Regions from separate parts of the Homo sapiens genome. Here region 1 is linked to region 2. Evidence: promoter capture Hi-C in human tissues and cell types (Jung and others, 2019). All regions are on one chromosome and are shown on one strand. The core of a region is centred on a gene start or on the middle of the fragment in contact, and the rest is flanking DNA. Distances in the headings are between cores, read along the strand shown.

Region 1 (6,022 bases), core at 2,919-5,418, 35 kb after region 2:
TTTTTTTTTTAAGGTATAACATAGATTCTGTAAAGTACATTAATCTAAGCATATAGCTCAGTTAAAATTTTATATGTATACATCCATGTAGCCACCACCCAGATCAAGATGTAGAAATTTCCAGCACCCCAGAAGTTTCCCTAGTGGGGGGCACCGCTGTTTAGAAATGAATCTTTACCTGCAGTTTCTGGTCTTTGTATGTGTCTGTTTACGTTTTCAGATTCCTGAGAAAGAGAACCTCATTGACAAAGGAAAGTCAGTTGGGGCCAAGGGTCACTGGGGGCCATCCCTATGTATTAGTGCTATTTCTGAACAAGGGAGAGTTGATATCTAACTCACTTACATTGTCCTGGAACATAGGATCTCACTTATGTAATTGACTTTTCTTGTGATCATCTGGTTATCTTCCATAGAAATCTGTCCTTTGACTCAGAAGAAGAAGAACTTGGGGAGCTTCTCCAACAGTTTGGAGAACTCAAATATGTCCGCATTGTCTTGCATCCAGACACAGAGCATTCTAAAGGTATGTGTTGTCAGCTGGCCAGGCCCTAAAAGGGTTGAGACCACTGCCGTGGGCACTGACTAGGTTACGAGAGCATAATGTGTGCCATTTTGAGGGGTTCACAGTCCATCCAGCCCAGGTTTCTGGGTTCTATAAAAGTACCAGGGACGCCGGGCACGCTGGCTCACGCCTGTAATCCCAGCACTTTGGGAGGCTGAGGCAGGCAGATTGCCTGAGCTCAGGAGTTTGAGACCAGCCTGGGCAACACGGTGAAACCCCGTCTCTACTAAAATACAAAAAATTAGCAGCGTGCACCTGTAGTCCCAGCTACCTGGGAGGCTGAGACAGGAAAATTGCTTGAACCCGGGAGGTGGAGGTTGCAATGAGCCGAGATCATGCCACTGCACTCCAGCCTGAGCCACAGAGCAAGACTCTTGTTTCCACGAAAAAAAAAAAAAAAAAAAAAAAGGACCAGGGACATCCTGGTCTTTAATGGTGTCACACTCAGCATCTTTAATGGTGCTGCTAGCCATAATTTTGTCTAAGCTTTTTAATCCCTTGCTTATTTACTTTAGGGTAATGAATTCCATTTTTGCTCTTTGCATTTCAAATGTGATAGTATCTCATAGGTACTAATCATTCCACATTGCTTGAAATTACCAGGATCTTTTTTTTTCCTGTTGCTTTTGTTAGAGGTAGAAGCTGACAGAAAAACTCTGTTGCAGTGTCAGCCGTTAGAAGGAAAACTCTATGTTGCAGGAGTGCTGCCTTAGATTTCTTTTTTTTTCCAAAAGCTATTTCTTTTGAGTTTTAAGCATTGACCATTCTTCGTTCTAGTATACTGTTGTTAGGTAAACATCTTTCCAACCCATTCATAATCTTTGATTTCACCTATTGCAGTCATTCTCCTAAAGCACTAAGTTCTTTTTTTTTTTTTTTTTTTTTTTTTTTGAGACGGAGTCTCACTCTGTTGCCCAGGCTGGAGTGCAGTGGCGCCATCTCGGCTCACTGCAAGCTCCGCCTCCTGGGTTCACGCCATTCTCCTGCCTCAGCCTCCTGAGTAGCTGGGACTACAGGTGCCCACCACTGCACCCGGCTAATTTTGTGTTTGTATTTTTAGTAGAGTTGGGGCTTCACCGTGTTAGCCAGGATGGTCTCCAACTCCTGACCTTGTGATACACCCGCCTTGGCCTCCCAAAGTGCTGGGATTACAGGCGCGCCCGGCGTTAAGTTCTTAATTTATTGTGATTCATGATTCGTTTGAGATCTAGCAAAAGCTGTGAATCCTCTCCTTAGAAAAATGCTGCTTCGGAGGCTGTGTGGGCTCTCTTGAGCCTATCCACAGCTTAAGAACCTACCTCCATTCTAAGCCTTTTTATCTTTCACATTGATAGAACCTAATCACTTTTGATTTTTACTCAGCTAAAAAAAAGTAAGACCTGGCCGGGAGCGGTGGCTCACGCCTGTAATCCCAGCACTTTGGGAGGCTGAGGCAGGCGGATCACCTGAGGTCGGGAGTTCAAGAGCAGCCTGACCAATATGGAGAAACCCCATCTCTACTAAAAATACAAAATTAGCCGGGCGTGGTGGCGCATGCCTGTAATCCCAGCTACTCGGGAGGCTGAGGCAGGAGAATTGCTTGAACCTGGGAGGGGGAGGTTGTGGTGAGCCGAGATCGTGCCACTGCACTCTAGCCTGGGCAACAAGAGCAAGACTCCGTCTCAAAAAGAAAAAAAAAAGTTTAAGACCTGGTGTGTGCCTGAAATCCCAGCTACTCAGGAGGCTGCGGGGAGCCCAGGAGTTAGAGGCTTCAGTGAGCTATGATTGCCACTGCACTCGAGACTGTGAGACAGAACAAGACCGCCTCCATCTCTTTAAAAAAAAAAAAAAAAAGATGTGAATAAGGCAGCACTGTGGAACAGAGTTAGAGATCTAATCCCAGCTATGCTACAGATAGACTGGGTGATTTTTGGCAAATCATTTAACTACCGTTGGCTTCAGGTTTTCATCTGTAAAATGAGTGGGTTTGAGTAATCACTTAAGGTACCTGCAGCTCTCATGTTTAGTTATACTACTTGGATCTTTTCCATTTCTAAAATGTTTTTAGACAATTTGAATTGCATAGAATGTTCCAAGTTAGTGGTATGATATTGCTTTACTTTGGTGGTAGTATCTTTTGTCTCTTTTTTAGTGCAGTAGTATATTGGGTTAATACTTTTAGAATGAAGCCTACAATTGACTGACTAGATATCCCTTGCGGTCTATTAATGTTAACAGAGTTCATGATCTTAATAAGCATAGTTTTAATCATTTAAAAAAAATGTATTGTCCTTCCCTAGCTCATTAAATTTTTCTGATACCTTTTTTGCCTACTCATGCAGCCTCGTGCTGCTCCTGTAGTTTATCCCTCTCAGCATGCCATTTCACTACCTGGAAGAGCTAAGTATTAACTGCAGTCTTTTAGGGAAATGTTAAGACTGAACCCAGTACTGACTCTGGAAACTCCAATGATAAAATTCTTACCCATTCAGAGAGAAGCACCCATTTTCTTCATATTCAATCTAATTAGATTCATTTGAATCTGCCTATTAGAAACATTTTCCCCATATTTCCTTATTTGTTTCTTTCTATTGAGTATCTGTTAATGCTGTACACTATAGTAGGTGCTAGGGATATAGAAACAGATAAGAATTGTGGTCATTTTTCCTGAGGTATTCATTCTGTTTGGGAAGATGTCACCTGAGTAGTGCTATAATAAAGATGTGAGTGGAAGATAGGAGGCAGGAGGGGACACAGAAGCTTCTAGATGGTGACCTTTGTGTTGGCCTGGCGCATGTGTCCTTTCAGTTAGTCTGTGCCATTCATTTTTATAGGAGGCAGAAGATCAATGCCCCCACTAGCTCTAGGAAATATGGCAGCATCTGAGAGAATATTTAAAATTTAAAGGAATACTAAACAAAATTATGAAACTTGTATTTCTTTTTTGGAATCTACTGAAAGGTAAACTTACTTTCTTTGCTTATAAAAGTTGTTTTTTATTGACCGGGTGCAGTGGCTCACACCTGTAATCCCAGCACTTTGGGAGGCCAAGGCAGGCGGATCACCTGAGGTTGGGAGTTCGAGACCAGCTTGACCAACATGGAGAAACCCTGTCTCTACTAAAAATACAAAATTAGCTGGGCATGGAGGCACCTGCCTGTAATCTCAGCTACTTGGGAGGCTGAGGCAGAAGAGTCACTTGAACCCAGGAGGCGGAGGTTGCAGTGAGCCAAGATTGAGCCATTAGACTCCAGCCTGGGCAACAAGAGCGAAACTCCGTCTCAAAAAAAAAAAAAATTGTTTTTTTGTCAATAGCAGAAATAGAGATGGGTTAATTGGTCCTGCATCTAATCAAGGAAAGGCATGCCTTATGGAGATTCTAGAGTATGAGCCAAGAATTGAGCTCCTGGCTTTCTGGTTCCCTGCTATATTCATATAGTAGAGGACAGAGACTTTTACTCTGAGAAGCAGATCTGCCCATATCTGATGCCTCCCAAGTGACTGTGTGACAGTGAGATCTGTAATTAAGTTCAGGGTTAAGTGGTTCCTGCTTTATTTTTTAGTCCTCTAATAGGTACTTCATAAGTGATGCTGAATTAAGTGTTAGGCTGGAATTTCTCTACCATTTCATGTGGATATTTCTTTTCTTTTCTTTTCTTTCTTTTTTTTGAGACAAGGTCTCGCTCTGTCACCCTGGCTGTAGTGCAGTGATCATGGCTTACTGCAGCCTTGACCTCCCGAGGTCAGGTCATCCTCCCACCTCAGCTTTCTCGGTAGCTGGGACTATAGGCATGCACCACCACACCCAGCCAATTTTTTTTTTTCTTTCGTAGAGACAGGGTTTTGTCATGTTGCTTAGGCTCTAACTCTTGGGCTTAAGCGATCTTCCTGCCTTGGTCTCCTAAAGAGCTGGGATTACAAGTGTAAGCCACCACACCCAGCCTTCACATGGATATTTCTTATTAAGAGAGATCATGAGACTAAAGTTCTAAGAAGAATTAGAACAGATGAAGGAAGTAATAATAAAATTTCATTAAGAGCAGTGGTATCTTTGTCTTGATTATTTGGTACCTAACATAGTGCCTGTGTCATAGTGCAATATGCGTCACTTAATGATGGGGATACATTCTGCAAAGTTCATTATTTGGTGATTTTGTCATTGTGTGAATGTCATAGTGTACTTATACAAACCTAGGTGGTATGGCCTACTACACACATAGGTCATATGTGCTCCTAGGCTACAAACCTGTACAGCACAGCATGTTGTTATACTGAATGTTGTAGGCAGTTGTAACATAATGGTAAGTATATGTGTATCTAAGTATTTCTAAACATAGAAAAGGTATAGTAAAATGCAGTATAAAAGATAAAAAATGGTACAACTGTATAGGGCAGATCCATTGTAATCTTCTGGGACCACTGTTGTATATGCAGTCTGTCACTGACCAAAACGTCCTTATGCAAGTACATGGCTGTACTTTTTTTTTTTTTTTTTTTTGAGACGGAGTCTTGCTCTGTTGCCCAGGCTGGAGTGCAGTGGCACTATCTTGGCTCGCTGCAACTCCGCCTCCCAGGTTTACGCCATTCTCCTGCCTCAGCCTCCCAAGTAACTGGGACTACAGGTGCCCGCCACCACGCCTGGCTAATTTTTTGTATTTTTAGTAGCGACGGGGTTTCACTGTGTTGGCCAGGATGGTCTTGATCTCTTGACCTCATGATCTGCCCGCATCGGCCTCCCAAAGTGCCGGGATTACAGGTGTGAGCCACTGCACCCGGCTACATGGCTGTACTTAATAAATGGATGCCACCTATCCCTTCCACTCTGTGTCAGGCTGTTGCCATTTGCAATGTTGTCTTTGGTTTATCTGTGGGAGTTTGGGATCTCACTGAATTGTGTCTCCTTGTGCAGGTTGTGCATTTGCCCAGTTCATGACTCAAGAAGCAGCTCAGAAATGCCTTCTAGCTGCTTCTCCAGAGAATGAGGTAAGGAAGATATTTCCTTTACCTTATAACACAGGAGGCAGTTTGGCTCTTAGGGGCAACATCTGGTATTTATACAAAGCTTTATTATTATTTTTCTTGTCAGTAATAATAAAACTAACACTTATTTAGCACTTTGTGTTAGGCACTGAACTTTACATGCATTATCTTAATCATTACATCAGCCCTTTGAGGTAGGCAGAATTATGATCTCTACTTCATAGGTGAGGAAAAGGGGATAATAACGTATCTGATATTTGTTGCTTGCTGTCTGTGTCAGCCTCTATCCTAGACTGATAACATGAAAGACTAGGATGAGGTATTAAGGTCGTCTGTGAAGTAGAGTAGATGTTTGAGAGAGAATGTGTGTGGGTGATGGAGAATTACTCCATTTGTTCTATAGTCGAGTATAATGTTATCTAATATTGCTGTTATTTCTTAAGTCCTCTTGAGTAAGTACTCTACTATTTCACTAGCTTACTTTACAATACTAGACATTTG
Region 2 (6,492 bases), core at 722-3,221:
GCCCCTAATGGACTTGGGGGTGGGGGCAGGTTATGATAACCCCTGGGGGTGCATCTGGAGATGTCCTTTGCAATGCTTTGTTAAGGGACCTGGAATAAATCCCAGACTTTATCGTTGATGGCCCTGAGAGTAGTTCAGTTGGTGGCCTGATTTGATTTTACATGAATTGGCGGGGCTCTGTGATAAGGAAGATGCCTTTCTGAAAAGCAACCCATTGCCCATATGGACCCCAGAACCATTCATCATTATTCACTTATCAAATAGGCATGGACCATATCCACAAAGTGCTAAGCTAGCTCTCAATTACTGAGACAGAATCTGCCCTAGGTAACTCTTTAAGCAACACCAGCACCCGCCCCCCGCCGCCCCACACCCTGCAACTGCCACAACCTTCAAGAGAAGAAGAGAAGGGATATAGATGGAAAGGGAATTCAGGGTCATATAAAAGGCTATAACATGGTGACAATAATTTTTCTGTCTCTGTGGCTCGTGGTGACGAATAAGTAAGGAGACTCTTATAAAGCATCCACCATCATTCTTGGCACACAGTTGGATGTTTAGATTTTGAGGGAAAGTTTTAAATGGTGCAGGGAGACAGAAGTGTTTCATGTTCTGATACTTTTAAATTACTATCATTGTTTGAAGAAAACATGAAGGGATTTAGAGACTCAAAACCACATGAATGAGTCAGTAGTACTTCAGTTAGTCACTACTACAACTTAACAGGTTCCATGAAGTATACATAGTGACTGCTCGGTTTTCTTGGTCATCTTCAACCTGTGTCAGCTTTTGCCTGAGCTCTCTTACTTTCTGTGAAGGGGCACGCTCTTTTTTCTTTGTTTTTCCTTTTGAGACAGGGTCTTGCTCTGTTGCCCAGGCTGGAGTGTAGCGGTATGATCACAGCTCACGGCAACCTCCACCTCCCAGGCTCAAGCAATCCTCCAGTCTCAGCCTCCCAAATAGCTGGGACTACAGGTGTCTGCCACCATACCCCATCACGCCCAGATAATTTCTTTCTTTCTTCTTTTTTTCTTGCTTGCTTGCTTGCTTGCTTGCTGTTTGTTTGTTTTTATTTTATCTTTTGCTATGTTGCCCAGGCTGTTCTTGAACCCCGGGGCTCAAGCGATCAGCCTGCCTCAGCCTCCCAAAGTGTTAGAATTACAGGCGTGAACCACTGAACCCAGCCTTTGATTTTACTGTTCTCCTCACACCTCTTACTAGAAACCAGTTGTAATCCACTTCTCACAAGCAGCTTAGCTCACCATTCTTTCTGGCAGACATTTCTGAAACAGTATTTTTGAGAGATCAGTTTTAGCGAAAAGACATGTCACACAGGGATTGGCATTTGGCAGTTCACCGGTGAAGTGTTGGAGGCACTGCTGTGTAGCAGTGCAACTGTTGAAAACCACCAGGTGGTGGAGAGGGCCGGCAGGGAGACGGTTCGAGTTTCTACCAAGCTGTGCAATCTTGGGCAAATTCGGTAATTTTCTGTGTCTTCATTTAATTGTCTGCAAAGTGGCGACATACACAGGGTTGCGGTGAGGACTCATGAGATAAAGGAAGTAGAATTGTCCATTGTACTTCTACTTAGCAAACGGTGGGACTCTTATTGCCCGGGGTGCCATCCTGGGGCAGGCTGCCATGTGTGCGCGTGTGTGCGCGCGCCCTCTGACCTGCGAGTGTGTTTCCTGGCGCGCGTGTGGATGTGTGTGCTGGGCCGCCCTGGGAGTGTGTGATTGCTCTCGCCAGGCTCACAGCGAGGCGCCCGCCGCGGCTGATTGACAGCGCTGGGTGAATGAGCGCGCGTGGAGGCGCCCGGCACCGAGGTGGCCGCGGCTCCGCGCTGCTGTGAGCGCCTGCCTGCCCGCCCGGGTGTGGGGGGACCGCGGGTGGCGGGCTGGGTGGGAGGAGGAGGAGGAGGAGGAGGAGAGAGGGCGCGGGAGCGAGGGCGGGCGGACGGGAGGGCCGTCAGAGCCGGCTGCCGCGGAGCCCCGGCGCGGGCGGCTTCGCCGGGGAGCGAGGCTCGGAGCCAGGAGGCGGCGCCGCTGGGAGGGAGCGCGGAGTGCGGAGTGCGGAGCGCGGGGCCTGGCCGCCCGCCTGGTGAGAGCGCTGCGGGCCGGGGCTGGGCCGGGGGCGGCTCAGGGGCAGCGGGGCGGCGAGGCTGCGGTCTCTGGACTAGGCGAGGGGCCGCCGGGGGCTGGAGGTCCGGATCTTCAGTCGGGGCGCTGGGCACAACAGAGAGAAGCGGTGAGATACCACGAAGCGTTGCCCAGCTGGGCGCCAGGGCCGCCACGACCGCCCCTTTTCGGAGGCTCGGCGAGGAGACCTGCCTGCGGGAGAGACCCCGGGGAGCAGGTCGGCCGGTCCGGGCTGGGGGTGTGTGTGCGTGTGCGCGCGCGTGTGTGCATGTGTGCCTGCGAGGGGTGGTGGGCGTGTACGAGTGTGGGGGGATGGCGGTGTGTGGCATGTCTGTGTGTGTGAATGTGTGTAGGGGGTGTGCATCTCTGTACAGTACATGCCGTGTGTGTGTGTGTGTGTGTGTGTGTGTGTGTGTGTGAGAGAGAGAGAGAGAGAGAGAGAGAGACAGGGGAGGCCGGGGGCTCACAGAGCTTGGGTTTGAACCCATGCAGGGAGGAGAGTGGCTCGGCAGGACGGAGTGTGTGTGTGTGTGTGCGCGCGCGCGTGCAGGGGCAGGGGGGTATGTGACGGGTGAGTGTGTCACGGGCGCTAGATGTGGCTATGTGTGTGATGTAAGGGTGCCGGGTGCATGTGTGTCCCTGGCTCACCCTCCCTTCCCCCACCAGATGTGTGCGCACAGAGGAGAGAGTTCTGGGGAGGGGGTAGGAGTCCGCCGCAGCTGCCTGCAGTTCGCCCAGCTTGCCTGCCTGGCGTTCTCCTCCAGGAAGCCGGAGATCGCCAAGCTGCCCCTCCCCCGAATACTTCAAGGGTCCTAGGGAAGGGAACAGGCCCAGCCCCAGGAAACGGGAGGGGCGGGAGGGAGGGTGCTTCTGCCAGATTGGGAACCTTGCTTCTCTGGCCAGAGCCTGGGCGGCCTTCTGACTGGGCCAGATCACTCAGCTCTGGCTTTACCCCTCCCGAGGCCCTGTGCCCCCTGGGGTCTGAGAGTGAGGGCGCCAGCACTTCTGGCTGGGGCGGGAGGTGGGGGTTGGAATAGGTCAAGACATCGGAAGGGCTTGCTTGTTCACAGTTATATGCCCAGAAGGGTGCTTGGCAAACGGTAAGCCTGCGTAAAGACTTGAGGCTCAGCAGAGGGAAGGAAGAGAGGAATCCATGTCTGGAAGCCCAAGTCCATCCCTTTTGCTACTAGTTAAGGATGAGGGCCCCTGGTTGCAGTCAGACCCCAGCTTCTGCATGAGCAGAGGGGGAAGGAGGAACCCCCAGGCAGGGATTTGTGCTGGGGCCTGAAGGTACAGGAAGGGCCCGGCAAGAAGAGCCAGAGCCATGGACAGGACACTTTGCATCCTGCCCACACTACCTGCTTCTCTGAGATCAGAAGCCTCTCTCTGGGACATCCGATCCTGGGAAAGGGAAGAGGGGGGCCACAGCCAGGGCTCACAGGGCCTCTCCTCTCTCCAGGACCTTCCTCCTCAAAAGCTGCTGAACAACTGAGTCCCTGCCCACCAAGGCCACCCGAAGCCAGGTGGGGCCATGGCCAGGCATGGCTGTCTAGGGCTGGGACTGTTCTGCTGCGTCCTGTTTGCTGCTACTGTGGGCCCCCAGCCCACCCCCTCCATCCCAGGTGCCCCTGCCACCACTTTGACCCCCGTACCTCAAAGTGAGGCCTCTATGCTGTCTCTCAACCTGGGACTTAACTTCAAATTCCATCTTCGGGGACCTGCTGCTGTCTGGGGGAGCCCAGTCACAGAGACCCAGCCACTCTCTCTTGGGCCAGGCCAGGAGCCAGGGGAAGAGGTGGCCAGTGGGCTGAGGACTGACCCCCTTTGGGAATTGCTGGTGGGCTCCTCAGGGAACTCTCTCACTGAGTGGGGCTCCACCGAAGGTGGCTCAAAGCCCCGGGCCTCCTCCCTGCTTCCGGAGTCCACATCCCGGCGCTCTGGGCCCAGCGATGGGCCCACTGCCCCCTATCAGCCCAGGAGGAGCACTGTGACCTGGGACACTGCTCTGATGGTGACAGCACTTCCATCCAGTGCTCCCAGGCCCCACCAGAGCGAGCTGGAGCTGAAGTTTGACATGGCACTGAGAGCAGGTGCAGCCCCCACGCTTGGGCATCGAACGCTGCCCCTGCTGCCCAGCCTGCGGGCCAGCCTGGCAGAGATTGCTGGGCGCCTGGGACCCTTTGGTGAGTAACCACCCCATCCCAAGGAAAGCCCCTGCTGGGCACCCCTGGCAGGTAGGAGGCAGCTTCAGCCTGGGCTTCTTTTGCAGGATTCTTTGGCACTACTCTGTCCCCACTCCGGAACTTCTCCGGCCTGAGCCCCCCAGGTGAAACTACATCCACAAGCTCTGCCTCTGGAGTTTCGGGTTCTCTGGGTGAGTTTATTTCATTGCAATAAACTATTGTGGAACACTCTACGTGCCAAGCGCTGTGCTAGGAGCCTAACAAGTACCTTTCTTTTTTTACTTTCTTGCATTGCTTCTTCCAGGCCCTAGGATATGGGCTACTACTTCCACGGAAGGAGTATTCTCTTTGCCATACTGAATCTGGTTTGCTCTTTGTAGCTTAGCTCATGGTGTACATGAGCTTAGCATGTGGCTACAATTCCTGGGACAGTGACTTCCTTAGGACAAACTCTGGGGAAGGACATAATTTTCTCCAAACTCCCAGAGGCAAGGCTGGTTGGTGGGGTGGCACTTGAGCCCCATGTGCTCCCTTTGCAGGGTTCCTTGGTACCACTCTGTCCCTGCCCCCATACTCCCTGGAGAGGAAGCTCTCCAGCCCAAGTCCTCTGGACCCAGCTGCTTCCCTAAGTTTTGCCTCGATTGCAACAACATCATTAGGTAAGTATCCAATTCATTTGAACTTGACAATTATTTATTGAGCACTTACTACATGCTAGTCACTCATCAGTGTTCTGGGACCCTTTTATTTCATTGTCATCATAATCATAATCATCATTCTCTTCATCATCACCGTGGAGATATATATGAATGGTCTGAGAGAAAGTATTGCTGGAGAAAGTCCCACACAGAGTTAAGTAATGGTCCCCTGAGTGTTTTGCAATGAGAGGCAGAGCAGGATGTAGACAGATGTATCAGGGACAAACAGACACAGGAACTTCTTCATGATTTCCACAGCCCTGGCACTAACCCCACCCTCCACTCCAGTCTGCCTGACCTGACTCCCCACCAACCTTGGGGCTCTTTCCTTTGCCATCTGATCTGACATGACATGCTGTCAGATATGGGAAGAGCTGGGTTTCTCATTGGGAAGACACTGAGGAGGAGACCTTGAGCAGGCAGATGCCACCTTCGTTCAAGAAAGCCTTTCAGAACATGCACACGGACAAGCTGGTGGTACGAGGAAAGACCACAGGCTCGGGAATCTTGAGACCTGGCTTTGAATCACAATTTATTTACTCACTAGCTAGTGACTTTAGGCACGTTATTTAACCTCTCTGAACCTAAATTTTCTCATAGACCCAGGGTTTAATAATAGTACTTGCTAGTTATTGCAAAGCTCTTAGCATGATGCTGGGCACAAAGTAGAGGCTCATTAAATAGTAGCTATTAACCTTGCTTCTGTCCCCCACTGCATCCCAAATCCACTTCCAGACCCTACCTCTCAGAAACCTCAGCCTTGGCCCCAGGCAGTGGTGGGACAACACAAACCACACAGCAGAGGGCACAGGAGCTGGAGGAGAGGTTCTGGTGGATGAGGCAGGGAGTCATGGAGAGGGACTGAGGGGCTTTCAGGCCCAGCTTTGCTCTGCAAAAGGTTTACTGTGGCTGTGAAACTTCTCAGTCACCCCTCACTAGGCTCAGCAGTGGAAACCACTGGTCTCCCCAGCTTCTTCCAGCTCCAGACTTAACCCATGACCTGGTTCTCTGGCTCACTCCAGCCACAGTCACTGCACTCCCTTGGATGGTGGGTGAGGGGCCTGCTATGCCTCTGTCCAGCCCAGCGTGCAGCAGGGGCAGGATGTGATTGGGGGTAGGGGGCAGTTTCTGTGCCTCAGGGGAAGGATGCTGGCTGGCAGTCTGTCGGCCTTGGTGACAGCGCTGGCCAGGCAGGTTTAATGAGTCTGGACAGTATCAGAGGCAGTGCAGCCGGGCAGGCTGGCGGCCCCACCTCATTCCCCCTCCTCCCTGGTAGCTGCAGGAACCCAGCCCCTGATACTGCACCTCTAAATAAACCCAGGAGAGCTATAGGCCTCCTGGAGAGAACGCCAATGGGCCTTGCTCTTGCCAGCAGAGAGAGAGAGAGAGAGAGAGAGAGAGAGAGTGTGTGTGTGTGTGTGTGTGTGTGTGTATTTGTATCAAGCAGTTACCATACAAAGGGAGTCTCTCTGT

Evidence for each region. Contacts are between HindIII fragments. The study calls those that stand out against the background at their distance.
Region 1: a contact is called between a fragment that was not itself captured here and the fragment with the promoter of PRRT4 in region 2, in 5 of the 25 tissues and cell types used here (heart left ventricle, lymphoblastoid cells, mesendoderm cells and 2 more).

The regions. Positions count from the first base shown.
Region 1 is chr7:128,325,320-128,331,341 of GRCh38, reverse strand. RBM28 (RNA binding motif protein 28) reads left to right here. Exons shown (of 19, transcript NM_018077.3): 10 at 414-523; 11 at 5,451-5,524. Among named protein-coding and RNA genes, the nearest start is that of RBM28, 16 kb to the left of the region's middle. The HindIII fragment of the contact is 3,986 bases long and covers 2,176-6,022 here.
Region 2 is chr7:128,357,169-128,363,660 of GRCh38, reverse strand. It overlaps PRRT4 (proline rich transmembrane protein 4), which reads left to right and starts at 1,971. Exons shown (of 6, transcript NM_001174164.2): 1 at 1,971-2,100; 2 at 2,239-2,355; 3 at 3,598-4,321; 4 at 4,408-4,512; 5 at 4,861-4,980. The coding sequence starts at 3,670. RefSeq lists enhancers at 2,036-2,904, 2,905-3,773, 3,774-4,643. The HindIII fragment of the contact is 21,921 bases long and covers 1-6,492 here.